3 separate regions of the Homo sapiens genome follow, and all the other regions are linked to region 1. The links are contacts of gene promoters, found by promoter capture Hi-C in human tissues and cell types (Jung and others, 2019). All regions are on one chromosome and are shown on one strand. Each heading gives the region's core, a stretch centred on a gene start or on the middle of the fragment in contact. The rest is flanking DNA. Distances are from core to core; before and after follow the strand shown.

Region 1 (3,315 bases), core at 484-2,983:
CTCGAAGCTCCGGTTCTGCCGCTCATCTTCAGGGGGCACGATGTGGTTCAGGATCAGTTCCACAAGGGGACTGGGGGCCGAGACGCTGGCATTGCTGCCCGAGAAAGCGAAGGGACTGAGGTCGGCCAGTGGGTTGTGGCTGAGGTCGAGCTGGCGCAGGCTGGGCAGATGCTCGAAGGCGCCCGCGCGCACCTCGTCCAGGCGGCTGCCGCTGAGGTTGAGCGCGGCCAGCTCCGCCAGCGGCGGCCGGCGGGCGAAGGCGCCGGCAGGGAGCACGGCCAGCTGGTTGCCGGTAAGGAAGAGGTTGCGCACGTAGGCGGGCAGGTCCGTGGGCACCTCGGTCAGATTGCGGTTAACGCACTTGACTGTGCGCGCTGCCTCGGAGCACTCGCACAGCGCGGGGCACTGGTCCGGCAGCGGGGGCTGGGCGGACACGGCGGAAGCCAGGAACGGCGCCGAGGAGGAGAAGGAGGATGCCGAGGAGGTGGGAGAAGACGAGGAGACCCAGCCCAGGAGTACCAGCGCTAGTCGCGCCAGCCGCAGACGCCCGTCCCCGGCGGCGGGGCCCCGGGAGCACCCCCCAGGCATCGCGGCTCGCGTTTCCCCGGAGCTGGGCTGGGACGGCGCCCGCTCCGAAGGCTCGGGAGGCTGGGCCCGGAGGGCGCGAGCCGGCGGAAGCGTCTGGAAAAAAAAAACTTTCCTCTCGTGGAACCGAGGGAGTGGCGCCGCAGCCGGAACTTGGCTAACCCCCTCGCCACCGGGCGCTTCCCTCAGGGGCCGATTCCCCCGCCCCTTCCCTCCAGAAAGTACGCACGGCGGGTCGGGACGCTCCGCTCCGCGCTCCTGCTCCCGCTCCTCTTCCTGCCGCCGCCCTGGTGCCACCTCTTCGCCTCTTGTTGGCGCCCCTCGCTGGATCCTCTGAGGGACCTGGGACAAGCAGGAGAGAGGCGTGAACAGCGGTGGCTGCCGCGGCTTCCGGAGTGCAAAAACCGGCCTTTTCGAGTCTAGTCGTCTCCAGTCTGTCCCAGAGACCTCCTTCCAAAAGCCCGCCCCGGCCTCGCCTCCCCAACCCCTCCGGTCACTTTTACTCCGGAGGGGGACGCGCATCCGACACCCAGACCGCAAAGTCTTCCTTCTTCCCTGGCCCACACTAAATAAACCCGACCGGCCTCCCGCCCTCCGCCTTTCCCGAGGAGACTCGTCTCCCGCGTCTAACTTACCGCTTAATCCCCAATTCCTTCCCTACCAAACTTCTCCCTCTCCCGTTCCTTCCTGCACCGCCTCGGCGGAAGGTCGGCCTCCGGGTGTCTCCGCCCCCGCCCAGACCTCTCCACCAGGTCCCGGTTAGGATGCGAGGGAAGTTTCAGGTTACAGGACTTTTTGATCTCTTTTTGTACCTTCTCGCATTAGCAGGAAGTGGAGCTACAACTGTCGCCCCCCAGCCCGCGCCCCGCCAGCCCCTCGGATCTCAAAGGGGTTCAAGTCATCTCCAAAGAGGAGGGGAGAGTCTGGGAACAAAGCAGCAGTGGGACTCGGGGTACAGTGGCAACCCGAACCAACCCTACTCTCCACCCGAGGATGGGGAGGGGCCCCAACGACGCCTCCCGGGTCTCTCCCAGGCCGCGGGCTCCCACTGCTCACCTCCGCGTCCGCCGCCTCCAGAACCAACTCTGAGTTCCACCAGAGTAGCGACGACTTCCCGGCTCCGCGTTGCGGGCGCCGACTCTCTTCGCACCCCAGCCCCTGGCCCAACCTCCCAACCTCCGCAGCTGGGAAAAACCAACCCGGGGGGCGGGGGAGGGCCAGGACTGTCGGGGAGATTCCCGACGCGCGGCCAACCTCGGCAGCCGTAGGTAGGGGGATTTAAGAAGAGAGACTAGGGGAGCTGGGCTGCGCGCCTCCTCCTGGTGGAAATTAACGAGGAATGTGCCGGAAAAGGTGAGGGAATCCCTTTCTCTCCCCCCTCCCCGACATCCTTGGGTGGTTCCTCATTTTGCATACTGTATTTACCTTGGACTGGAGCAAAACCGCTGGTGAATCTCGTGGAATTCACCCTGATTCAGGCACCTTTGGCAGTGACGAGATAGATTTAGGCATGACAGAGCAGCGCGAAGCAGCAGCAGAAAGAAATGAGCTGAAAATCTACTGCGGCAGCAGCAAAGGCACGGCAGGTTGTATGGAAGCTTCAGAAGCTCTCCCCATCAAAGTGGTACTTGAGGCCGCAAACTTCAGATTTAGGTGTAATTAATGCCTTCCCGCCTGTCCCCCCCGCCCCCTCACTTCTTGGGTAGTGATGGAACTTGTGAAGAGAGCGCGCCAACTTTAAGAGAGAGAGAGAGAGAAAGAAAAAAAAAAGATTAGTGGAGAGGAGATTCATTCCTGATTCATTAGCTTTTCTCTTACCAAAATTAAAAGCAGATGGAAGAGAAAGGCAGCCAAAGGCATCCCAGAAACAAAAGGCAAATAGCAAAGACTTGAGTCTCCCGGAAAGCGGACCCGCCCCCCTCCCCAGATGTAGCGCGGTGTGTCAAGTCACTTCTGTGGAGAAAGCTCCAAGGATGAGGAGTGGGGATTGCAGGAGCTGACCTGGGAGAGAAGTTTGGTTTCAAAGTCGATTGTCCCAGGGGGCATCTGGCAGATGGTGATGGAGAGGATGGGGTTGGGGAGAGGGACAAATTGAATGGTTGGTTACCGGAAGGATCTGTTATTATACCAGACAGGTTTTGGGTTCTGAAAGCCCTATCGTTGCTCTCTGTAACTCCACATCCCCTTTGTCCCAATTAAATAATTTCCCCGAAGGGATAAGAAGGTTCTTCCAGGCTTCTTCATTTTAGAGAGAAAATGGCAATTAGGGAAAACATGGTTCGGAAATTTAAGACCTGGTCGTATTAAAAAAGATCAAATAAGGATCCTGAGGCTTGTGCCTGGGACATGTGCCTTTAGTGTGAAGAAAGACCCCAACTCTCCAACGGACGCCTGATTACTTTTATAGAAAGAGATAGTCTGCAAAGCCGACAGCAAAAATGGCTCAGACAAAAGCTGAAAACACTGGAAACTGCAGAGATTTGTGCACAAAAGCTGGTTTCATTAATTTGCATCTTCAGCACGTTTATCTACATCTCTTTTCTTATTTTTAAAAGTGTTTTGCAACATGAATGTAAAACACTTTGAAAAAGAATCTCTAAAGCTGTAGTCATGTTCTGTATCCGGATTGTGGTGGTGGTTACATAAACCTATACAACGTGTTATAACTCATAGAACTTTGTAAACCAAAAGAGTCAATTTTACTGTATGATAAGTTTAAAAATAAAATTA
Region 2 (3,315 bases), core at 519-3,018, 51 kb before region 1:
TATAACGTAGTTGAATTTACCATTTGTCTTCCTTTGAGCGTTCAGCCTGTTTCAAACTTTTTATTGCTATAAGTAAAACTACGATGAACATCTTTATTCATAAGGCTTCTATTTTTTCTGATTATTTCCTATACTGGATACCATGAAAAATTCTTGCAGGTCAAAGAGAATGATCAACTTAAGAGTGTATATTGCCAGTTTTTCCCCTAAAGAGTTACATCAAACAACACATTTGCCAGGAGCACATCCTTTTTGTTTCTATTATTGATTGAACCCTTAAAACCCAACCTTAGCAAGCTCCTGTCTAGAATCCTTATACAGGAAATTGGTTACACTCTCCTCACTGTCCAGGCTCACCTAACAAAGAAACTAGATGGAGAAAAAAAATAGAGGAAAAATAAAGGAGAAAAGTAAAAAGAGGAAGTAAAAGCAGAGAGAAAGGAGTGAGGGAGAAAGGCATGCAGGACGGCAGGAAGAATGGACTTTTATAAAGGAAACTGAATCTGCAAGTTTTCCCCACGAAGATAGAGTTTACACAAAGTAGTTCTTCTCAACCTTTTCTGCCAGTTCAGGACCAGGGATTTATTTGTCAAAAAAAGAGGTTTCAACTCCTCTTCTTCCTAAATAGCACTGTTCCCTCCTTAACCCTAAGCTTATAAAAACAAAAACACTTAAAATTAGCCCATTTTCTCCTTTTGCCAGGGTACATGAGTTTTCATTGCATCATCTCACTTGATTCTCCAGTTATTATGAGGTAGATATGATTACCCCAAGTCTACACATGAATAAACAAACTCAGAGAAGTTAAGCGGGTTCTCCTGTGTCCATCTGTAAATAGTAGGACCAGCTCTCCCATCCAGGTTTTGTAACTTTAATTTTACTCTGCTCCAAAATTTCTATGGCTTCCTGGTTTCTATTCACTTATCTGATTTCTCATGCTGGTATTGCCCTGGCATTCTTGGATTTTTGCCTGGGCTTTGTTTTTCTAGTCTGGGCTTCTTGTCTAGTTCCAACTGGTTCACATTGCTACTGCCTACTTCCCAACCTGCCAATTTGCCAACTTTGTATTATTGAAGAATGTGTTCATTTAAGAAAATTCCTTTCAGTATATTTTAGACAATGAAAAAACTTTATTAGAATTTCAAATATTTCCCCCTAAATGTAACCACTGGCTTCCTGTTCACTTATAGGTCTGACCTATTCCTCCACCAAGAGTTTCTAGTGTACCTACACCACCATGTTGGGTAAAGAAGAGTGGTTCTTCTTTGATGCCCTGTAAATTCTCCACACTGATCCAGTTGCTATACCATTGTAGAAAAAACTGCTAATTGCTTCCCGGATGTCCTGTTCTTCATGGACACATAGTTAGATTACATTTCCCATATAACTGAGTTCTGGCTGTTGGGATGTGAGTGAAAGTCATAAGTGCCACTTCCAGGCCTGGAAAAGTCTATTCTTCATATTTGTTTTCTTTTCACTGGCTTGAAGCAGACTTTTGAAGCCACATGTTGAAAATGACAGAGTCACAGATGAAAAGGATCTGAATTCCTGCTGAAAAGAGAGCCAGCCGTCAATGAGAAAAACCCATTTTAGACCTTATACAAGCAAGAAATTGCCCTCTTTTTTGTTTCATTATACATTTGGGGGTTTATATGTTTCACCAATTAGCCTACCCTAGCTAGCATAGCCATGAACATCTCTGTATAAGAATATTGCTAATTAAGGGGTGCCTCTTTGGTGTTGTGATTTGACTATAAAGCAGAATTAAATACACTCACACGTGAGAATTTTCAAAAAAGTTTGTGTATGTAAATGTGCATATTTGCGTGTGTGCATGTGTGTGCGTGGTTTTTAAAAACCAGTGCCATACAGTTCCTGGAAAGCTTTTAATCTATAAAGCAATGCCCTATATTTCTGCTTTGCCTTTTAAAAATGGCATGTAGGTTGCAGTGCACTTAACAGAATCTTATCCCAGGGTTGGAGGGGTGCAGAGTCTTGGAAGAGTAGAGTCTCATCACCCAATCCACAGAAGCACTTCTAGGGCAATCCCAACCACCTGCCAGAAAACCCACAGAGTCACCCACCAGGTAGGACGGCTAAGGAAGAATGGCCCCACAACCCCTCCCACTGCTGCTCCTCCAGCAGCAGAGTGTCATGAGCCTGACAAAGCATTCTTCAGGCTGCTGGAGATGTGATGAAGGATTAATCGAGAGGCTTTTGATGACTTATGAGATGTCTGTAGGACTTAGAAGAATGTGAGAAACACACAGTGACTTCCAGTGTCCACGTCCAGCAAACTAGAAGACTGGGCTGGGGGATGGGGTGGGGGCATTAACAGAAATAAAGAAGTTGGAAGGCAGAGGCGTTTGTTCTGAGAGGAAGACAATGTGTTCCACTTTGGTGCTGTTGATCTTGGGGCCAGCAGCCACTCCTGTTTCAGGCAGTCAGTAAGTGTCCTTTTCTCTCCTCTTTAGGCCATCCATCCTCTGTTATCTGTCCTTGGCCAAAATCCCTTATCTCTGCTTTTGATGAGTGTTTAGCACATCACTGAGTGATCCTGCATGCATTTCTAAGTATGGATACCCTTTTGGCGATGCTTTGCCAGTAACTGAAACTAAAAATAATAATAATAATAAAAAGCAAAGGAAAAGCAGCCAAGTATTATATATCCATATCTTATTTAATCCCATCCTCTTTAAAAAAATTTTTTTATAGATTCAATCAACTATCTGCCTGGTTCTTAGGCTGAAGCATAGTCTATACCATTTCTTCTATCATGCTTAGGCCGTGATACATTTTTGGGTTTATTTGTTTTATGAGTTAGCCTGCCTTATGTAGGACAATCATGAACATTTCTGCATAGCAACATTGATTAAAGAACAACTAACAGGTCTAAGTTGATAATTGAGATATTCACTAAAGTAATTGCATCATCATTTCAGCTGAGTTGTGGGCAGGAAAAAAACCCTCCTGATTCTAGATAAATAAAAAATTTCACTTAAAAAGTAATTTTTGTTTCTTAGGTTACAGCTCTAAATATTCTTGAAACATCTCAACTCTGAGCTTTTCTCCAGCAGCCTTTGCCTTGATCCACTCCCAGGTTCGTACCCTAAGGCATCATCACCTGAAACAGCTTCAATATCCTACTATGATCACAGTCCTTATCCTTCCAAAAATCTCACTCCATTGCTCCTGACATATTTTATCTTTGAACTCATGAAAGTTGCCAATGTGCTGTGATCACAGGTCATCCTCCATTCCCCTGCACCAGCCTGGGACCCCTCTCTCTCCCAGTTTCTTCTGATCCAGCCTAGA
Region 3 (3,315 bases), core at 434-2,933, 42 kb after region 1:
CAAGAGGCCACTGGAGGGCTAAATCAAGAAAGAGGAAGATGTGGGAGCTGGTAAAGGTGATGCACCCAGGGGAGAGGCAGAGGGAAATCCTAGGAAGATAATGAAGGGGGGCTTGCACATGACAGCTATGCTGCAGGCCTGGAAAGTTACTGGAAAAGGCTGGAGCAGGAGGACAGAGGTATCTGGGAGGAATGATGAGAGAGGAAGAAAAGGAGAAGGAGAAAAAAAAAACAGAATTAACTGTTGTGTTTGACCACATCAAGAGAAGTTTTATAGTTTTGGCAGAATGATAGGAATGAATTAGTTCTCAGTACATGGAAAACAAATCAAATGCAAATAAAATTACAGTCTCAGAGAAAAGAAATAGTTGTACAATAAATGAATGGTAATTATAGTACGATATATGCTTCAGTGTCAAGTAGTTATCTAGTCATATCGGTGAAAACATCAAACGTTTTATTACAACTATATTGGGTAGAGGGAGGAAAGAGACTTGTGTCCTTTCCCATTGTCTTTTTTTCTTTCCTTTTTTTCATATTATGGTTCACTTTCTGGAATTATATAATTCAGTTATTTAGTTATTTATGTTATTTAGTTATTTTACCTTCTCAAACCGCAATGTAAGTTCATAAGTACTGGGGACTTTGTTCTGTTCACGGGTATATCCCCAGTCTCTACAACATTTATTGCAGGAAGAGGCAGACTGTAGAGCTGAGCAAAATCTTCATCCTTTAGAGTAGAAAAGCAATAGGCAACATCCAATCCTTTAGAGTAGAAATCAATAGGCAATGTCCAATACTGAGAAATCTAGAAGTAGTGGTATAAACATATTAATTCAAATAATACCAGGAGAAAACAGCTAACCAAAATAGTTGAAAGAGATGTCCTCTGGGAAGCAGTAAGAATGTGAAGAGATGATTTAAGAGACAGCTGTAAGCTTTGTGATTTTTTTTTATTCTTAAATTATTTACATGTAGTACTTTGATAAACTTTGAAAAGGAAAAAAATAAATGGATACTATAAAATTATTCATAGCAAAACTGATAACACTTGACATTGAAAACATTTCACAATAGTGTTTCAGAATGACTGATTTCATAATATGCATAATGAATTGCATGAGATAAGAGATTACAGGAAAGAAAATCAGAAAGGAGACTTTGAGCTAATTCAGATGGTAGATGCTGAGGCCTTTAAGTGAATGGGTATCCCTGAAATTGGAGAAGTAGTGACATATTAGAATATATTTTGGTAGTTAAAAAAGTAACTAAAAAGATATCCGGGAAAGACTGCATATTCCATAACCATCACTAATAGGCATTCTCAAGTAATTTTTCAGGACTTTTGCAATAGTGAGTACAATTCTGTAATTTGAAACAAACACAAGTTAAAAGAAATCCAAGATTACTCTTATTTTTTGCAATATTCCTTTCAAAACACTTTTATAGTTTTAGTGTCCATCATGAGCAGTCTTGACAGTTTTTTGGTACACAGGGCAACTTTTGAAGCATGAGGTAGAATTGCAGTATCATGTCATAGTATTATCTTCAGTTCTACAGATTCAGAAGTCAACATTTTCTGATTTTAAAACCAGATTATACACTATATTCCTGATAAAGACCTCAAGCTATCTCTCAGCTCTTGGAAGTACCAAAACACCTTGCTTTTCTTCCTGTGGCATTTACCTTATTCTGCCTTGAATAATTTCTTTTTTTTTTTTTTTTGAGACAGAGTCTCACTCTATTGCTTAGGCTGGAGGGCAGTGGCACAATTTCAGCTCACTGCAACCTCCACCTGCTGGGTTCAAGTGACTCTCATACCTCAGCCTCCCAAGTAGCTGGGACCACAGGTGCATGCCACCAGGCCCGGCTAATTTTTGTATTTTTGGTGGAGACGAGATTTCATCATATGTGCCAGACTGGTCTTGAACTCCTGACCTCAAGTGATCCGCCTGCCTCAGTCTCCCAAAGTGCTGGGATTACAGGTGTGAGCCACCATGCCCAGCCTGCCTTGTATAATTTTTCATTGCTTTCATTCTTATGAATCAATAAGGCACTTTTAATAGGCATGAATACCACAAACATGTAGGTCCTCAATAAAGATTTGTTGAATTGAATTGACTATTCATATTTATGCATGCTTACAGAAATTTAATTATTCCCTTCTGGAGGAAAGGAGCTCAGTTTCCTCAATGAATAAAGAATTAAGGAAACTGAGCCCCTCTCCTCCAGAAGGGAATAACTCTTCCTTATTTAATACCTTAGATCAGTTGTTCTCGATCCTGGCTGCACATTATTAATACAATAACTGGAGACTTTTAAAACAAATTCTGATGCTCAAGTCAATAAAATATCTGGGTGTGTGAAGCTTCTATTTTTTAAATAAATTCTTCTCTTGATTTTAATATGCATCAGAGATTGAGAATTACTGTATTAGACCATCTACAACTTTGGTTCCAAACCTAGTTGGGTATCAGAATCACCTAAGATTTGTATATAAGGAATTGATGGGCTATCAGAGAGAGTATCATAATCGTTTATCTCTAGATATTTTCCCCTTCTCTGAGTATGTCTGTCTCCTTTGACTTGGTTTAATTTCTGCCTAGAATGAAGATTTTGAGGTTGGAACAAGTCAGCACCTATGAGCTGGTTTCAAGACCCTGGGGAAGCAAACTGAATAACATTACTGAAATGCTTTATGTAATGCTGTGCTTGCAAAAGTTGTACTGCTCTTTCACCAGAAATAGGTAATATTTTATGTTAAGTATTGTAATCATTTCCTCCTTATTTCACATTATAATATTCTTCATACTATTTTCACTGCAGATAAACATATCAGTTACTAAATAATAATTTCTTATTAATCATCCCACAATTATAAGCTCATACAAGTCTTTTAATAGTCTGTCAGATAGGTTGGAATATCACCTGCATTTTGCACCTGAGCAAACTGAAGTTAAAATTTGTTCAGAGCAGCTACACTAGACCTTCTGTCACCTGGTTGCAACATTAGTGTTTTTCTACTCCAATATGTTCACTGTCTTCTTTGTGAAGAAGTAGAAACTTATTTCTTTTTATAAAAAAAGTCGGATTTCAAGTTCTAAATATGCAATTTATTTTCTGATGAATATTTCCCTTTAAGAAACAGAACGTTTGGAATAGTGAATATTCTAAGCAATCAGTCCTGCGCAATTTGTATAATCATTTTATATGTTAGCCATGTTTGTATTTTTCCACATGAAAACAACTGTCATGTTTAAAATACATTTCATGTAAAACTGCCAGCAGCACAGCTTTGAAATAGATTTTTATCCTA

The links. The method cuts DNA at HindIII sites, captures the fragments that hold promoters and counts their contacts. A contact is called where the count stands out against the background at its distance.
Region 2: a fragment that was not itself captured here is called in contact with the fragment with the promoter of TPBG in region 1 in 1 of the 25 tissues and cell types used here (IMR-90 fibroblasts).
Region 3: a contact is called between a fragment that was not itself captured here and the fragment with the promoter of TPBG in region 1, in 3 of the 25 tissues and cell types used here (neural progenitor cells, small bowel and thymus).

The regions. Positions count from the first base shown.
Region 1 is chr6:82,362,235-82,365,549 of GRCh38, reverse strand. TPBG (trophoblast glycoprotein) reads right to left here and starts at 1,733. Exons shown (of 2, transcript NM_001376922.1): 1 at 1,642-1,733; 2 at 1-927. The coding sequence starts at 588. It overlaps LOC105377875 (a long non-coding RNA gene), which reads left to right and starts at 1,893. Exons shown (of 3, transcript XR_942738.4): 1 at 1,893-1,938. RefSeq lists enhancers at 1-220, 221-1,123, 1,275-1,786, 1,787-2,300 and a silencer at 173-252. The HindIII fragment of the contact is 6,837 bases long and covers 729-3,315 here.
Region 2 is chr6:82,413,682-82,416,996 of GRCh38, reverse strand. LOC124901352 (a long non-coding RNA gene) reads right to left here. Exons shown (of 2, transcript XR_007059664.1): 2 at 1,111-1,551. Among named protein-coding and RNA genes, the nearest start is that of TPBG, 52 kb to the right of the region's middle. The HindIII fragment of the contact is 4,556 bases long and covers 1-3,315 here.
Region 3 is chr6:82,320,373-82,323,687 of GRCh38, reverse strand. No RefSeq gene overlaps it. Among named protein-coding and RNA genes, the nearest start is that of TPBG, 42 kb to the left of the region's middle. The HindIII fragment of the contact is 4,411 bases long and covers 1-3,315 here.